6 separate regions of the Homo sapiens genome follow, and all the other regions are linked to region 3. Evidence: promoter capture Hi-C in 16 types of primary human blood cells and fetal thymus (Javierre and others, 2016). All regions are on one chromosome and are shown on one strand. The core of a region is centred on a gene start or on the middle of the fragment in contact, and the rest is flanking DNA. Distances in the headings are between cores, read along the strand shown.

The links. Contacts are between HindIII fragments. The CHiCAGO score rates a contact against its expected background, and 5 or more counts as called.
Region 1: a contact is called between a fragment that was not itself captured here and the fragment with the promoter of MNS1 in region 3, in 1 of 17 cell types (fetal thymus). The highest score is 6.5, in fetal thymus.
Region 2: a contact is called between a fragment that was not itself captured here and the fragment with the promoter of MNS1 in region 3, in 2 of 17 cell types (fetal thymus and total CD4 T cells). The highest score is 6.6, in fetal thymus.
Region 4: a contact is called between a fragment that was not itself captured here and the fragment with the promoter of MNS1 in region 3, in 1 of 17 cell types (fetal thymus). The highest score is 5.1, in fetal thymus.
Region 5: a fragment that was not itself captured here is called in contact with the fragment with the promoter of MNS1 in region 3 in 1 of 17 cell types (fetal thymus); the score reaches 5.3 in fetal thymus.
Region 6: a fragment that was not itself captured here is called in contact with the fragment with the promoter of MNS1 in region 3 in 1 of 17 cell types (fetal thymus); the score reaches 6.7 in fetal thymus.

Annotation. Positions count from the first base shown.
Region 1 is chr15:57,119,214-57,121,913 of GRCh38, reverse strand. The region is part of intron 5 of TCF12 (transcription factor 12); the gene reads right to left. Among named protein-coding and RNA genes, the nearest start is that of SNORD13D, 160 kb to the left of the region's middle. The HindIII fragment of the contact is 1,420 bases long and covers 691-2,110 here.
Region 2 is chr15:57,271,849-57,274,593 of GRCh38, reverse strand. It overlaps TCF12 (transcription factor 12), which reads right to left. Exons shown (of 21, transcript NM_207037.2): 19 at 1,332-1,564. Among named protein-coding and RNA genes, the nearest start is that of SNORD13D, 5.4 kb to the left of the region's middle. The HindIII fragment of the contact is 1,532 bases long and covers 596-2,127 here.
Region 3 is chr15:56,463,854-56,466,553 of GRCh38, reverse strand. MNS1 (meiosis specific nuclear structural 1) reads left to right here and starts at 1,417. Exons shown (of 10, transcript NM_018365.4): 1 at 1,417-1,584; 2 at 2,307-2,528. The coding sequence starts at 1,582. RefSeq lists a silencer at 1,238-1,487. The HindIII fragment of the contact is 3,006 bases long and covers 571-2,700 here.
Region 4 is chr15:56,990,642-56,993,341 of GRCh38, reverse strand. All of the region lies in intron 3 of TCF12 (transcription factor 12), which reads right to left. Among named protein-coding and RNA genes, the nearest start is that of TCF12, 73 kb to the right of the region's middle. The HindIII fragment of the contact is 3,108 bases long and covers 1-2,700 here.
Region 5 is chr15:57,216,115-57,218,814 of GRCh38, reverse strand. The region is part of intron 8 of TCF12 (transcription factor 12); the gene reads right to left. Among named protein-coding and RNA genes, the nearest start is that of SNORD13D, 61 kb to the left of the region's middle. The HindIII fragment of the contact is 693 bases long and covers 970-1,662 here.
Region 6 is chr15:57,144,964-57,147,663 of GRCh38, reverse strand. All of the region lies in intron 5 of TCF12 (transcription factor 12), which reads right to left. Among named protein-coding and RNA genes, the nearest start is that of SNORD13D, 130 kb to the left of the region's middle. The HindIII fragment of the contact is 814 bases long and covers 972-1,785 here.

The DNA of each region.
Region 1 (2,700 bases), core at 151-2,650, 660 kb before region 3:
GTAAGTTATATATAACTCCACAAAACTCCAAAGAATCTTCCCCAAGAATTCCAGGAACAATAGAGCTGTATCCATGAACATTATTCCTTTTTAAAGAAGAACACTGTCAGACCATTTGTGCTGCTGTAACAAAAATTCCATAGAATCGGTAATTTACAAACAATACAAATTTATTTCTCATGGTTCTAGAGACTGAGAAGTCTAAGATTAAGGGGCTAGCAGGACTGGCATCTGATATGGGTTGCTCTCTGCTTCCAACATGGCACTTTATTGCTGCCTCCTCTGAGGGGAGCAATACTGTATCTTCAAATGGCAGAAGGGCAAGAGATAAACGCTGTGTCCTCACAGGGTAGAAGAGTGGAAGGGCAAGAAGGTGCGCCTTTCGACCTTGAGCCACTTCATAAGGCGTTAATCCTATTTATGATAGTGAAGCTCTGTCATAATTTAATAACCTCCCACAGGCCAACTACACCTTTTAACACTGTTGCATTGAGGGTTAAATTTCAACATGAATTTTGGAGCAGATACCATCATTCAAACCATGGCAAACACTATTGTTCAAATAAATTCAGTGAACTCATGGAACTGCTCTAATTTCAGAGTGAACCGAATTCATATTTAGAAAACAACCAAAAATGTATTATTTAAACAGTGACAAAGTCTGGTTCTATCCATCAGCGAAGTTAAGCTTCATCTTTGTCCTAGACTAGCGAAAGAACCTCAGTTTCTACGTCAGTCATGTAGCCTCACTGGTAGATGTCATCATCTATATAGCCTCTGGAATGTATGTCAGCTCCAGATCATGCCAAAATGCTACTTCTTTCAGTTTCAAAAACAGATATCCATAAAACTCCTGTTCCAGATTACCTTTCAGTATCAGCTCATTTGCAGAGGAGAGACAACAGGCATTTTCCTTTCCTTTCTTTTCTTTTTTTTAGACAGTCTCACTTTTTCACCCAGGCTAGAGTGCAGAGGTGCAATCATGGCTCACTATAGCCTCAATCTCCTGGGTCCAAGTGATCCTCCAACCTCAGTATCCTGAGTAGATGGGGCCACAGGCTTGCCACAACAGACATTTTCTGAGCCCACTTAACAACCAAACTCTTCCAGTCTCTCATTAAAGAATGTCTCACTTTCCTACACACTGAGATTCCTCACTCAGGTGGCTCTCACAGGAGATCAGCATTTACCAAAAACATTTTAGGAGAAGGATCAAAATCTTACAGGTCCCATATGTAAAATTAGATATGGTGGGGCATAGCAAAAAAATATAGAAATATAATTGTCCATATAATATAAATAAAATATGCTGATAAAATTTTATTCTTCAAGAAGCTGGCAACCTAACAGGAGAGACAGATATGCATTCAAACAACTATAACAAAAGCCAAAACATACACAGAACTGTAAGTCCTGAGAGCTCATCAATGGCAGGGATCATGTAATCTATCTACAGTTTAAAAGCAGTTCAACAAACAATTATTGAGCACTTGATATATATCAGATATTGGATAGGGCCAAGGGAAGAAATGAATCAAGACATCCTATCTTCAAGAAAACTCCAACCTAAAAGCAAGTGTACACAAACAGCAAATTTCAGCATAACATATACAGGGAGCCACAGACAAAACAGCAAGGGAGCACTGAATCCAAGTTGGGAGTTTAGGCAAGGCTTTCTAGAAAAGACAAGCATGGGTTGAAAACTCCAGGACGGCAAAGTCATAAATGCTTCCATTACCAATGTACATCCGAGTAGTCAACGCAGTATCTAGCAAATGGCAGAAATGCAGTAAGTACTGATAAATGAACTGACAGATTTAATTAGGCAAAAAAATGTATGAAGGGCATTTCAGTTAGGGGGAATAATGTGAAAGAAAAGCATGCAAACATAAAACACTTCAAACTAAATGTGTAATTATAAGCAGGTAAATAGTAGTAGGACCTAAGACTCATGACAAGAAATGACAGGAAATAAGGATGGGATATTTGAATACCCTGCATTTAGCTAAGGTTCTGAGACAGAAACAAGGTTGGTGGTCCAAAAAACTTTCAATGTAGTAATGTAAACAACTGATTTTTTTAAAGAGATATAAAGTACTATGGGAAAGCTTAAGAGAAAGAGGTGAATTCCTATTTAGGATTGCCACAGGATCACATGACGAATATTTACCAAGGATCTGCTAAATCAGTGATATTGTGATTCCACTGCCCATTCCTTTAAGAGTTAAAATATTCTAAAATCCAAAGTATACAGTATCCATATGGAGTGAGGGCTGTTGAATAAAGTAGGAGGAAGAAAAGAGACTCTATTTCTTAATTTTGTTTCCAAATAACACAAGGATGAAAAAAGAAACTTCAATTTTACTAGCTGGTTTACAATTATACTTGACTACGGAGTCTCAAAAATAGCATACAGTATCGTATCTAGTATGAAGAAGATACTTAAAAAAAAAAAGCTGTGGACCGGGTACGGTGGCTCATGCCTATAATTCCAGCGGTTTGGAAGGCTGAGCGGAGAGGATTGCTTCACATCAGGAGTTTGAGACTAGCCTGGGCACAATGTGAGACCCTGTCTCTACAAACACTGCCCACCCACCGACCTGCTGCCAAAAAAACAAAAAAACAAACAAACAAACAAAAAAACAAAACCACCATTAGCCAGTCATGGTGGTTCATACTTGCAGTCCCAGCTACTCAGGA
Region 2 (2,745 bases), core at 112-2,611, 810 kb before region 3:
AAAAAACCATTGGTAAAGTGACAGGAGGTATCAGTAGTTCAAGGAACCACTGCTTCTGCCACAGGCGAGTGGGTAACAATCTGCCTCCTTATGGATATCACAAGGGAGTCTATAATTACTTGAAGATTAGGTTTCATTAACATTTATACTCCACAGATATTTCAAGGACCTTGGGAGAAGAGGAGCAAGTATCCATTTTTAACATTAGGTTGATTATACACAAAATGATCTATCCCTCATTCTTATTCATTAAATATATTGGAGGGAAGTGGATGAATTAACTACTACTGTATATATTTCTGAAAGTTTGTTCAAGTTCTCTAACTCTGGTTTTCCTAAGAAAGAGTACTCATTCTGTAATCTAATGCTGAGGCTCCATGGCTGTAGTTTTCAAGCATCTGCCCACCCTATTCTTTTTTGAACCGTCTTCACACAAAATCGAAAGAATTGCTCTGAGAGAGACTAGTGGTCAGATCTGGAACCTAGGGCCACATCTATGAATTCCTTGCAAAAAGGCTTAGGATATTTTAAGACAATATATAAGTATATGGAGAAACTCAAGCTTGATGGTAAAACCTCTTAAAGATAAGAAGCTTCTATTATTTGATAACCCAGGGCCTAGGACACAGCTGGTTGGAACAGAGGAGGTATGCAATAAATACATGTTGAACAAATGAAGTTTCAAAGTTTCTTCAAAACTGCAACAAACTTCCTGAAAAATGAAACTGAGTCAGCACTGGGTGAGCTCTTTTGCCCTTAAGGACACAGAGGCATGCCGATGTATGTTAGCCCAAAAAGTTCTTGGTGTTCCTGGTCTGGGGTCAACAAAGAAGCCCTGAGACCTTATTGACATGGGTGTAAAGGTATCTGGCAAAGGCAGAAGGGATGATAACAAGGCATCCTATTAACCAGCAGGGCACGGTAGATACTCCAAAGTAGAGCAGGCAAGAAAATGAATACAGAGAAGTAGGAAAGACATAAAGAGCAGGGAGGAGGGCAGGTCCAGGCAGGGAAATTTAATGGTTGAGAGATCAGAAGCAACCAGAGCAAAGAGACACAAAGCACTATTGCTGAGCAGCAGGCAGAGGCTGTTTGTTATCTGCTTTGCTTCACAGAATTACTCTCTATTGGTGGAGAACACTCAGCCCACAGATATTGGGTGATACAGTGAGACAGAAGTGAGAATTACAGGAAAAACGACCCTGATGATACAGTAGAAGAAGTACTGGGAGAAATAACAAACAACTTCTCCAAGCAGAAGAGCAACTGTAAACAGAAATGTCTGCCCATCTGAAGCAGAACAGTTATACATCTCGGCTGAACCTACTTACCTCTGACTTGCTGTTCTAGACTAAGGATGACTGCCACGGCTTGATGAAGAATAAGGAGTTTTGTTTGGGGTTTTTCACTCTTCAAGTGAAGCTGACACATTCGGCCAAGCTCTTTGAATGCTTCATTAATATCCCGCACGCGTAAGCGTTCTCTGGCATTGTTAGCCATCCGCCTCTCCTTCTCCCTTTCTATCTTCTGTTCAGGGTTCAAATCCTCATCTTCATTAGTACTGCTAGAAAATAAAGTAACAACAAGGTCTATTAGGTTTCCTATAAAGTAAGATATGCTGATTGTGCACAATTATAAAGCGTAAAGATGGAAATGAAAACCACCTATAAATCTTGTAAACAGTTGTAATAGGTGCAGTTAACATGACTGTATATTCCTTTCAAATTTTTCTTCAATGCACATATACAGTCATACAGTTGAAATATACTACATACACTCTTAAGTGCATTTTTCATTGCACATTATAGCATAAAGATTTCTCCAGAAACTCTTCATAAATATAAGATCAACAACTACATAATATTTTAGCACCTTGCTACACAAAATGTGATCCACAAATCAGCAGCATCAGCATTACTGGGAGCTTGTTAAAAACACTGGAGTAGAATCTCTCAGGTTCTGCTCCCATCTTACTGAATTAGAAGCTGCATTTTAACATGTTTCCCAGATGACTGATATACACATTACAGTTTAAAAGCCCCCCTAGTACATGAATGTATAATTTGCTTAGCCTATGCTCTTAAATATACTCTGGCGGTTACCTGGCGAAAAGAAAGAAGGAAAGCTTAAGATATAGATTGAGAGAAGTATCCCAGAAAACGGCTATTTTTTTGTTCTAGAGATAAATTATCATCAGTGGTGATAATTATAAAACATGGGAGAAATGACACAATTTTTTGAAGGGCAAATTGGCAAAACGAATCCAGAGCCTTAATGTTTATTACCTCTTGATCAGCAATTCCAACTTTGGAAATTCATCCTAAGGATATAATTAGAGATGTACATAGAAATTTATGTAAAGGGAGATGATCACAGAATTATTTACATTAGCAACATATTGGGATTTAATAATAGCAAATGGGTTCAATAAATCATAGTACATTCAGACAATGGCCCATTATGTTGTATCTAAAATCAAGTTGCAGATTATGCTAAGTAAAAAAAGCCAGTCATGAAAGATCACATACATACTCTACAATTCCATTTACATGAACTTCTAGAAAACACAAAACTATGGTAGCAGAAAGCAGATCAATGGTTGCCAAGGACCACGGGATGGAGGAAAGGGACTCACTACCAAGGGGAATAAGGACATTTTTTGAGGTGGATTCTACATTATGAATAAGGTGGCTGTTAAATAACTTTTACACTTGTCAAAATGACAAAATATATACATTTTAACAT
Region 3 (2,700 bases), core at 168-2,667:
CTCAGATTACCTATGAAATTATATGAATCCTTCTACCATATCCAAGGGTATACTGGAAATGAGGAATTATAACTGAAGTTCCCTTTAGAGACGAAAGTCTTCATTTCGAGAAGTAAACAGTAAAAAACATACATGTTTGCTGAAATACTTTGCAATGTCACTATTTCACTATTAGGAATTAACAAATTAAACCCCACACTCTATTGAATGTGTTATACCCTGTTCAACCCTGAACCCATGCCTGTCTCCTGTCTCTTCTATACAGTGCCCAACCCTTTGCGGAGATGGATATGCCAAGAAGAGAAATTTATAGCAGGCTGCCTGCTTTGCTCCATTCCAGATCAATTTACACAGAACACCCAGAGGGCAGGTTTACGCCTTCTCTCCATTTCTCTCAAACAGTGATGGCAATGAGTGGAGTACTAGAGACAACATAGATATGCAACCACGGGATAAATGACCAAAGGACAGAGAGACGAGCGACCTCAGTTGTATGATGGAACCAAGAGAAGTCGCTGATTTTTAGTTGTTTTGATCTGGTTGTAAGGATGGGGTGACAACTTCCAAGCTTTTACACGTCAGCACTGAAACTGCAAGTCCCATTTGTTATTAATCTTTAAGCAGACATATTGCTACAGAAGACGGACTCCAAATTAGAATAACACAAAGTTATACCACTAATCACCTTATACAAATATTTTAGTGTTGACAAGATTTCTCTGAATGTATCATTTCTAAAATCAGTATATCTAATTTCTCTGATCCATTATCATTCTTAAACTTCCCATTTAAAATGGACTTTAGTGTCTAACCTGCCTATGGAATGAACCAGATCAACATCCTGCCATCATGTAACGTGCTCTCTCTTGGTACCTGGACCACATAGCAGAGTAAGATTCATGTGGCTCATAGATTTTAGTCCCAAAATTTACCAGCAGCTTCTGCGGGGGGGGGGGGGGGGCGGGGGGGTGAAGTGAAGGCTGCTGGAAGCTCGTGCTACCCTCAGTGCCTCACAACCCAGCAAAGGGGACAGCGACCTGGACTCCCATTGCTGAGGATTAAACCAGTCATCGTCCCTAGCAGAGACCTGGCTGACTAGGCACTTAGTGTGCGGGATGCTCCATGCGTGGAAATTTCCTTCGGCTCCATGCATTAGGCAGTAGTTTGCGTATTTCTCTGTGCGCAGTCTCCACAGTCCCGAACTTGGCTCCCAAACCCACTGAAACCACAGTTCGGCCGCTGGAGGGAAATCGAGCTTCCCTAGCCCACTGCAAAGTGCTTGGGTCAGGCCACAGTCTGAACTTCCCGCTTTTCTAGTTTAGACCTATAGAAGTAGCCCTCCTGCCCTGGTCCTAAGAAGCTCAATGCCGATTGTATCTTATCGCGTCCAATGGGAGGCCACGTTCTGCGTGGGTCACTTTTGGTCGAGCGGAGGGCGCGCAGCTCCACCGTTGCCAAGACGCCGCGTAAACACCCGAGCGCGCGCAGCCAGGTGCGCTCCTTGGGGCTGCTGGCTGCTGCGTTTGCGGCGGGAGGTGGTGGCCGCGGTCCCACGAGAGGGGGTATTTTTCGTCAGCCAAGATGGTGAGCCAGTTGGGGGACTTGAAACTACTTGTTTATTGTTGATTTAATTCTAGTTTGGCGCTCATCTGCTTCTAAAAAAGGATTTTAAGTGCTTAATCTGGTCATTAATTGGGGAACTTGTATTTGCTTTCGGAGGCTTCAGGTGCTATTAGAAGGGACGCTCGCGGTGGTTTCCAGCTTTTTTGGCACTTTTCGCATAGTGTATTAAATACATCTTTAAATCTGCCCAATAGAACCTCTGAAGAAATAAGTAGATATAAAAGTGTAGGAGAAAGCGAATTGATAAATAGCGGCGAATTGACCTATTACATTTATGTTAGGAAAATCTGACCAGCTTCTGAACAGCACTTTATGGCCCTGTGGTGGTAGTCGTGGTGGTGGTGGTGGTGGGTGGAATGAGGGGAGGAGAAATTCCCTGGTGGTAGTAAAGATCTGGGTCTGTAGGGTGCGATTAATCCTAGCACAGCTATTTATTAGCTGCAGAACCTTGGGTAAAGTTACTTTTCATGTTTCATCTATAAAATAGGTAATAATAACAGTACCTATTTAATCGATATGTGAACATATTTACCACGTTTACTTTTTATTCGGTATACTCCTTTGAATTTAGGAAGGAAGCCAGGCTCTTCGTATCCTTTCTTACTAAGGTTTATATCAATACATTTTTTAAAATTAGATTTTGGAATATCAAAATATGCATCTTTTTTTTTCTTCCATCGTAGGGTTCCAAAAGGAGAAATTTGAGCTGTAGTGAAAGGCATCAGAAATTAGTAGATGAAAACTACTGCAAAAAATTACATGTCCAAGCTCTAAAAAACGTCAACAGTCAAATCAGGAATCAAATGGTGCAGAATGAAAATGATAACCGTGTTCAGCGCAAGCAATTTCTCAGATTATTACAAAATGAACAATTTGAGTTGGATATGGAAGAGGCCATTCAAAAGGTAAGTTTTACTATTCATTGTTACTTTTTTTTTCATTTTGCACCTTGGAAACGATGAAAGTCAGCTGTTAATGCTGGAAATGAGTAGATAAACAACAGCAGCAGGTAAGTGATGCCTGATTGTGCCTCAGCTCGGTGTAATCGTAAAGACCTGGGTTTCTGGAGCCGGCCTG
Region 4 (2,700 bases), core at 96-2,595, 530 kb before region 3:
CTCAGTTTTGACCATGGGCTCCTGCTGTAGTCTCTGCTGCCATTACCACACGGTTGCTTGGGAATAGGGCATGAGAGATGGAGAAGACAAAAAAAATGACAAAATTTTCATTCTGAACTTAGCAGTTATCTTTCCTGTTCCTTGAGCCAGAAGTAGCAGGCGTCTTTTAGAGCTTTCTGTTTCAGATTGCCCCACTTTTAGGTTTTAGATTGTGTTAAGTTGTCTGGGGATGCTGGAAGAAAAAAAAAATGGTAAACTCACAGCCAGTGAGATGGTATTCTGAATGCTAGTCTTCATTCATATCCCACCTGGTATTATTTATTCTGCAGAGTCCAGAAGAGTTCCATCCATTTTGCCTAGGTTTTATAGATGCATTCAGTGAGAAAGACGGGGTGCATGTGGTTAATCCATCATACTTGGAAAAGGGAACTAACCTCTAACTTCTTCTCAGTTGCTCAATTCTCACTGACACATGAACTCCTCAAATATCCTTATAAAAAGATAATCGGTAATTTAAAATAAGACAATAGTCCTAAGCATTCTTCTATTCACCAAAATTGCACTAATTCACATGGTAACTAACTCATGAAAAGATAGCCGTAACACTATTAATAAAATCCAATCATGTTTTGGCTAAACAGCTTTTATGACTACAGATGATCACTGCAAGGTCCTCAAAATTTTGTAGTGCACTATCAGAAAAGAAGAACTCTACTTCCTCACTCTTTAGCCTTTATAAAATTCACAATGGCATAATGTATAGCACATCACTAGGTATTTGTGTCTGTGATCCATTTACAGGTGATTAGGTAAGAATCACCATTCAACAAAATGTTATGTGACTTTCAATAGTAGACTCAAATTAAAATTATTCAGGACATGTTTTATTTCAGAAGAATGACCCTTAATCTCTTTCAAACCCTGGCTGCTACGTGAGAAACAAAAGCTGTAAAATTTAGTTTTAACAACAACAACAAAAAATTAAAAGCAGAAAGAATGTGGCAATAAAACTTAATTAAAGGAGACTGGATTTAGAAGCAAGGCTTAAATTTTTATTTATTTATTTACTGTGAGACAGGGTCTCACTCTGTCACCCAGGCTAGACTACAGTGTAATGATCACAGCTTACTGCAGCCTCAACCTCCTGGGCTCACATCATCCTCCCACCTCAGCCTCCTGAGTAAGTGGGACCAGAAGCATACATCACCATGCCCAACTAGGTTTTTTTTTTTTCTTTTTGGCTTTTTTTTAGTAGAGACACGATCTCACTGTATTGCCAAGATTGATCTGGAACTGCTGGTCTCAAGTGATCCTCCCACCTCAGCCTCCTAAAGTACTAGGGTACAGGCATGAGCTACTGTGCCTGGCATAGGAGATCAATTTTTAAGGAAATCTAAAGAATCATATGACAATAGTGTTTATCTCCATAATAAACTTAAAAGTTGTTTTAACCAACTTACTTTTTCTATACCCTGATGGTTAAAAGACAGTTAACCCTTGTACAATGTATTAATCAATGATGATAATTATTTCCCTAAATAAAAAAAAGGGCACTATAATTGAGATTTAACTTTGTAGTTCTGACAGAAGAGTATTTGGAAGGAATTAAGGTACACAAAAAATGAGTAACTCATCTGAATTTAGTTTAAAAATGTTAAATGTTTTGCCATGAAAACTTATTAACCCTAAATGTCTTTTAAATCTTTAGACCATCTTCATTCAAGCAGTAGGTATAGCTCTAAATTCACAGACTAAAAAGGACATTTTCCATAGTGCATATTGATAAGATCATATTTCCTCCAAACTTTATATAAATAGGTCCAAACTTTACTGTCAAACAATTAGATTTTCTGAACTGAGTAAATTAAAACCTTATATTGTAGAAATTAGAATTATATGGAAGATAACATAAGGTCACAAGTTCAGCCCTTTCAATGCAAATTCAATATTCCACTTTTTCCTATGTCTCTAACTGGTCAACCATTTTATCTTGTCCAATGTGGGACACTAGTCATTAGATGGAAACGGAAGACTGGTGAGGAAAGAGAAAAGAGGAGGAAAAGTAAAGAAATCAGGAGAGAATTGGATGCATAAATCAGTGCAAATCCTTCACGGTTAGTGAAAATCAACTGAATATGTGAGATGGTGGGTTGGGAATATCATCTTTCATTACATGACACATTTACGTAAGGCGAGCTTGGGAGACTAAAGCAAACCCCTGAGATTTGTTAACAAATCTGAAGACTGGCCAGGCACAGTGGCTCGCGTCTGTAATGTCAGCACTTTGGGAGGCTGAGGTGGGAGGACTGATTAAGCCCAGGAGTTTGACAGCAGCCTGGGCAACATGGTGAGACCCCATCTCTACAAAAAAATTTAAGGATTAGCCAAGTGCAGTGGTGCACATCTGTGGCCCCAGCTACTGTGGAGGCTGAGGTAGGAGCATTGCTTGAGCCTGGAAGGTAGAGGCTCCAGTGAGCCATGATTATGCCACTTCACTCTCCAGCCTAGGTGATAGAGCAAAACCCTGTCTCAAAAAAAAAAAGAAAAAGAAAAAAATTCTGAAGAGTTATAAAGAAATTTTAACGTAGGTGTTCTGGTCAAAGCTGCTAAAGTTTTTAAAGCTCAGCAGTATTTCAGAATCATAACCCAAGAACACATTGGGCTATCAAGCTACAAGTTCTGCAGTAAGTATGCTACAGG
Region 5 (2,700 bases), core at 67-2,566, 750 kb before region 3:
GTCCAAAAATCAGATAGATTATCTTGAAACTAAATTACCTGTTTTTAAAATGGAAACACTTAATAATACAGATTTTCAGTTATAAAGCTCCTTGAATTCTTCATACACAACACCAATCAAAAGTTTATAATGTCCTGCAATAGGACTGTTCTTAAAAAAAATTCACACATCTTTCATATAAAGTATGAGAGAATAAACTAAACAGTTTCCTATAAGTCTTTCCTCTAAGTTTATTATTGTTCTTAATACTTTGTATATTCATATTTTTATGCTAATGCTCACATTTCTCAGAAAGGAAAAATAAGAAGTGTGGGAATAAATGTCTTACAGACATTTCTAACTCATACTTCGAAGTCAAAAGGTTTTAAAAGTTGTCTACAAAAACATGTGTCTCTTACACAGACACGTTTTGCTATTTAAATGTTTTCCAATCAATCGTTTGCTGTAATTACAACCTGGAAAAACAGAATAGCAACTTTCCCTTTTTGTGTCATTTCCCTTCATCAAAACTTCTTTGTACTATCCTTCCCTCTATGCCTTGTAGGTTCTAACGGGATTGTATTAATCAGAGGAGAGCTCACAAGCTGCAAAAGGGGGCACATCACTTTTTTTAAAGGTACCTTTCATGAAGCAGAAATCCTCTGTGAAATATTCTAGGAATATACTATAAGGGACCCCCTATCCCCCCAACCTCATTTTTACTAACATATTGATCAAATTATAGTAACGAAACTAAATCAGACAATAAGGGCAACTAACTTCACAATGTTTTAAAAGCTGATAGTATTGGAACAACAATAAAACCTCCCCACACTCTCCAGATATAGAAAAGGCTAAGCAGCAGCTGCAAAAGAACATCGCTGTACAGCAGACTATTAAAATGCCAGTCTGCGGAGTGGTTTGTAACTTCCTCCCTCCTGAGAGACCACAAAGACCCATTTCAATCCTTGGAGAACTGTGTAAAAAGCTTTGATTCACAATTAACAATAGCATGCCTTAAAACCATTCAAGTAAATTTTAGTCTTCCATACACAGTCTTTCTCTACTGACAGATCGGCTACTCTCAAAACAAAAAAAAAGGAAAATCAAACAAAATCGAATCAAAATTTTCTTTTTCTATTAATTATTAAAAATAACACTTACTTTTCAATAGAAATTGAGGAGGAATAGGGAGAAGAGGGGAGCCACAAAGCACTGACAATACTTCAACATTTTTATAATCATCGCTTCAATCTGAGAAAACTTTCTTATATTGGTTAAAAAACATCCACCTATGACAGTTAAGCCCATTTCCCTGATGCCGGGCAGAAAACAGAGAGGGTACTTACTATGTTGTTTGATAAAACAAACATCATAATGTAAACCCAACTAAGCAACCTTGGTTATTAAAGCACAATGAAAATTTTAATATTTTAACACCAGTTCTTTATTTTAGAGGCAATTATATGATAATCTGAAGAGAATAAACATACATTCAGATAAAAAAGAAATTCACTGTAAAAGCCAAATAGTATAATCAAATTTCTTTAATGGAAAAAAACACAGTTACTTTTGCACAAACCTAATCAGTTTATTAAACACCTAAGTAAGATTTAGTGTTAAACATGAAACCTGAATGTGAAACATAATTTGTAAAGAGAGTTGAGTAACTAATTAAAAGCTTTTGCTTCTACTTTTCATTGTTCTCCTAAAAAACATAAATATAAAACTCGTACATGTGTAGGTAAGACCTCCCCTGCCAATACAAACCGTAGTCACTTGGTATACACTACTGCCTAAATTGAGCATAGATATAAAAACTTAAAAAAACAACAACAACAAAACTCTATGCCTGTATCTATAATTATATGATATTAAAATCTCATTCTTCAAAAACAGTAAATCATCAACAAAACTGGTGGTAATCTACATAAAATGCCCCTATATTCTACTTGTATGCTATGGAAAAGTCTTTTAAGTTTGTCGCTCCAAAACAGCATTTTTCTTGAAGTCTGCCTTACCCCCCAAAAAACTAAAACTGTTTGATGTAGATGGTCATTGCTTGATTGCCATTATAAATTATCTTGTATAATAAAATCTTTTTTTCTCTGCTCCCAATTTTTTAAAAATTAATTTAATCTATGCAACAGCTGTAGCACAATTTCTTGTCCTAAGGAGAATCATATTACAGGAAAAAAATGCATATAGATGGATCAAGTGCTGCTTTAGTAAATGCAGTTGTTTAATCTTTGCTTTTTTTTTTTTTTTTTTTAAAGGAACATGTCAAGGGTTAATCCTATGACTCAGTCTGACAAAACGAGTCAGCTGGAGACAGGGCCAATTTTTAAACCTGATTTCAGACAGGCTGCCTGCACAGTAGTTCTGAACTGTCATGCACTTTTTATCCAGAATTGTTTCCACCCACAACGCTACATAATCACTTATGTGTTACTCTAAGATTATGTGATCTGACTCAATATTCATGTCACCTAGTTCAACAATATAAAAAAATCACCAAGTTTTACAGCAAGATAGGAATCATTGTACACACTAGCAAAATGACTAGTGAAAATGCCAGAGGACCCTGACAAAATACGTAACTTGGAGCCATATACCTTTTATTAGCAAACTGATGATTCCTGGTTTAAAGATTATTGCATTTCACCAATTTTCAAATATGGCTTTTCCTCCCAAATGTTATCAGGATGTTATGTTTGCTGC
Region 6 (2,700 bases), core at 129-2,628, 680 kb before region 3:
TGTGACTGTCTCTTTCCATTCATAATTTTATAAAATATGCACAAGGATTTAACTGCACCTTTATAGGTTTTTTATTTTATACTTTCTGTTTTTTTTCCCTAGAACATGCAAAGATCTCACTTAGTGCTTTTATGGTAAGAGTTTATTTTGGGTAAAGCTTTAAAAAAAGTATAAAATGCTTTAAAATATTTCAATGAAAGATTATAGCAGATAAGCAGGATTAATTTAAAAAACAAACTATTTGGGGATCAGAAGTAGTTGTTTAATAGGATATAGGTTTAGAGTTCCCAAAAGATATCTTACAACTAAGGAAATAAATATAAAGATAGCTCTAAAGGGTTAGATAACTATTACACTGATGTTAAACAAATACCATGCTTACTGGAATTAAACTTTCTAGAAGTAATAAGCTTAATAACTGAATATATAGTTACATTGTTAGTACTGAGAATGGAAGAAGTGATCCAGAAATGATTGCATTTATTTCACTTTTACTTCCTCAACTTTTTGGATTATATTCAGCCAATATCTATTTAAGGAACTGCTTTGGAAGGCCCTTATGTTTTATGCAAGGCACTGCTATTTTCCCAAATGAATAGAATATCCATTCTCCAGCTCCAAGTTTCCATGACAATAAAAACAAAACATTCATCAGCACCAACTTGGTATTTTATGGCAAATGCAGCTGCAGCTTATAACAGTTCAATCTTTATCCCAACTCATTTCTGCCTAACAGAGGCACTATATTTCTCCAAATCAACTGAATTATTTTTACAGTGATTTTCCCCACCGCAGACCTAAACACTAACAGTGTGTTACACCATCTCTAATTATCATCCACTCTTCCCAATTTCACGCCAAATACAATGAAAGGTTCCCAAATGTTGCTAAGAGCACATTTGATTTGTGAAATCTGAAAGCTCAGTTGATTTAAGTATTACAGCTTTAGAGGAATGTATAATATTTAAGCTTTCATGATTAACTACAAAGAAGACAGAATTTTGGAAACGAAAGACATTCACAGCAAACAAAAAGCTAAATTAAAATCAGTCAGATTATGGTAAGACAGTGCCCCCTTGTGTCTTGGTATTTCTGCCTTGACTAAATCCGGTATTCATTTCCTTAGAGTTCTATAATATAAATTTGAATATTTTTTGTATCACAGAAATAAATAGAACTTGATAACTCTCCTAAGACAAAATCCTAATTTAAAACAATATGAATACACTGGCTATTAAATATAAGTGATTTTTACATGAATACTCTGTAACATGGTGAAAATGTAACAAATTTGTATATCTAGTAATTTCATTTTAAATTTCACATTTAATTTACTATTAGTGAGAGATGTTGACAAAGTTTTAAGAATGAAAGAAAAACCTTGCTACTATCAGTTACATTTTCCTTTGGTATTGGTTCTCCTGTGTAACCACTTTATGCTAGTACTGGTTACCCTCATTATTACCCTGGGGCAACTAATGAGTTTGAGGCTTTACACAGAGAACAAGACTGTATTAAATAGAAGAAATTAACATGAAATCTTAAAGGGTATATGTAATAACAATATGAGTAATACCCTAAGTTACAAATAGCTTTAGAAATAAAAAGTCACATAAAAAACATCATTCATGTTTTTTAACTCCACTCAAAGTGTAATATTCAGATCAGAGGCAAGGCCATGAAGTTTGTAAAAATTCAGAATCTCGGGTACCATACCAGATGATCTGAACTAGAACTTGCATTTTATAGCAAGATCCTTGGATGATTCTTATAAGCAATAAAGCTTCAGAAACGCTGCTCTAAACTCAAAAGCCTTCCTACCCTCAACTATCACGCAGCAGGAGCAGAGTAGCATAAGGAGAGGCTGACTGACCTTTGGGCATAGAGTTAGCTTTTAGAGATCAGGTGGATTCAAAGAAAGAGAGAATCAGGAACAGCTCTAGGAAGGCATCCCTGAGTATATAAACTGAGGCTATGTCAGCGTGCTTACCAAAGTGACTCCTACACCAACTCTTTTTCCCTTTTTCATTCTCTAAAATATATTTTTTAAATGAACAGCTAAGATTCTATCAATCTGTGGTCAATATGGGTGACCAAGAAACTTCAAAAAGCAAATAATGTAAGAATTAGAAGTCCATCACTCATTATCAATGATCCCTAGTACACATTTTTTTTTTACATATTTCAAACTACATTTACTGTGCATTTTCTATCTTATTTCACACTCACCAATCCCCTGATAATCAAGTTTTATTATTCCCATTTTATAAATGAGAAATCATTTATAAATGAGAATCATTGAGGTCAACTAAATTACCAAAGGTCATAAATGTAGTGAAGGCTGAGCACACTGCTAAGATTCAGGTTCTGATTCCAAATCCTAGGTTCTCTGTACTGTAACACATTACCAATACTCATTAATGTAAATAAGCTTAATTAGATTGCCTTTCTCCCAATATTAGCTATGGACAGAATACCCTGCAGAATAACTTTAGAGCAGAAGACTAAAGCAGCACAGTAGCCCTGGGCATATGGAAATGTTCTTATTAAGATGTTTAAATGTTCTTAAATAAGGGATGTTCTTATTTTCTTTTGGCTCATCCATATTTTGATTTTCTACAATAAACATTGTATTTGATACAGGAAAAGTATTTTTAAATGCTCATAGTATATAGTATATTCCTTACAGATAAGCTAAAA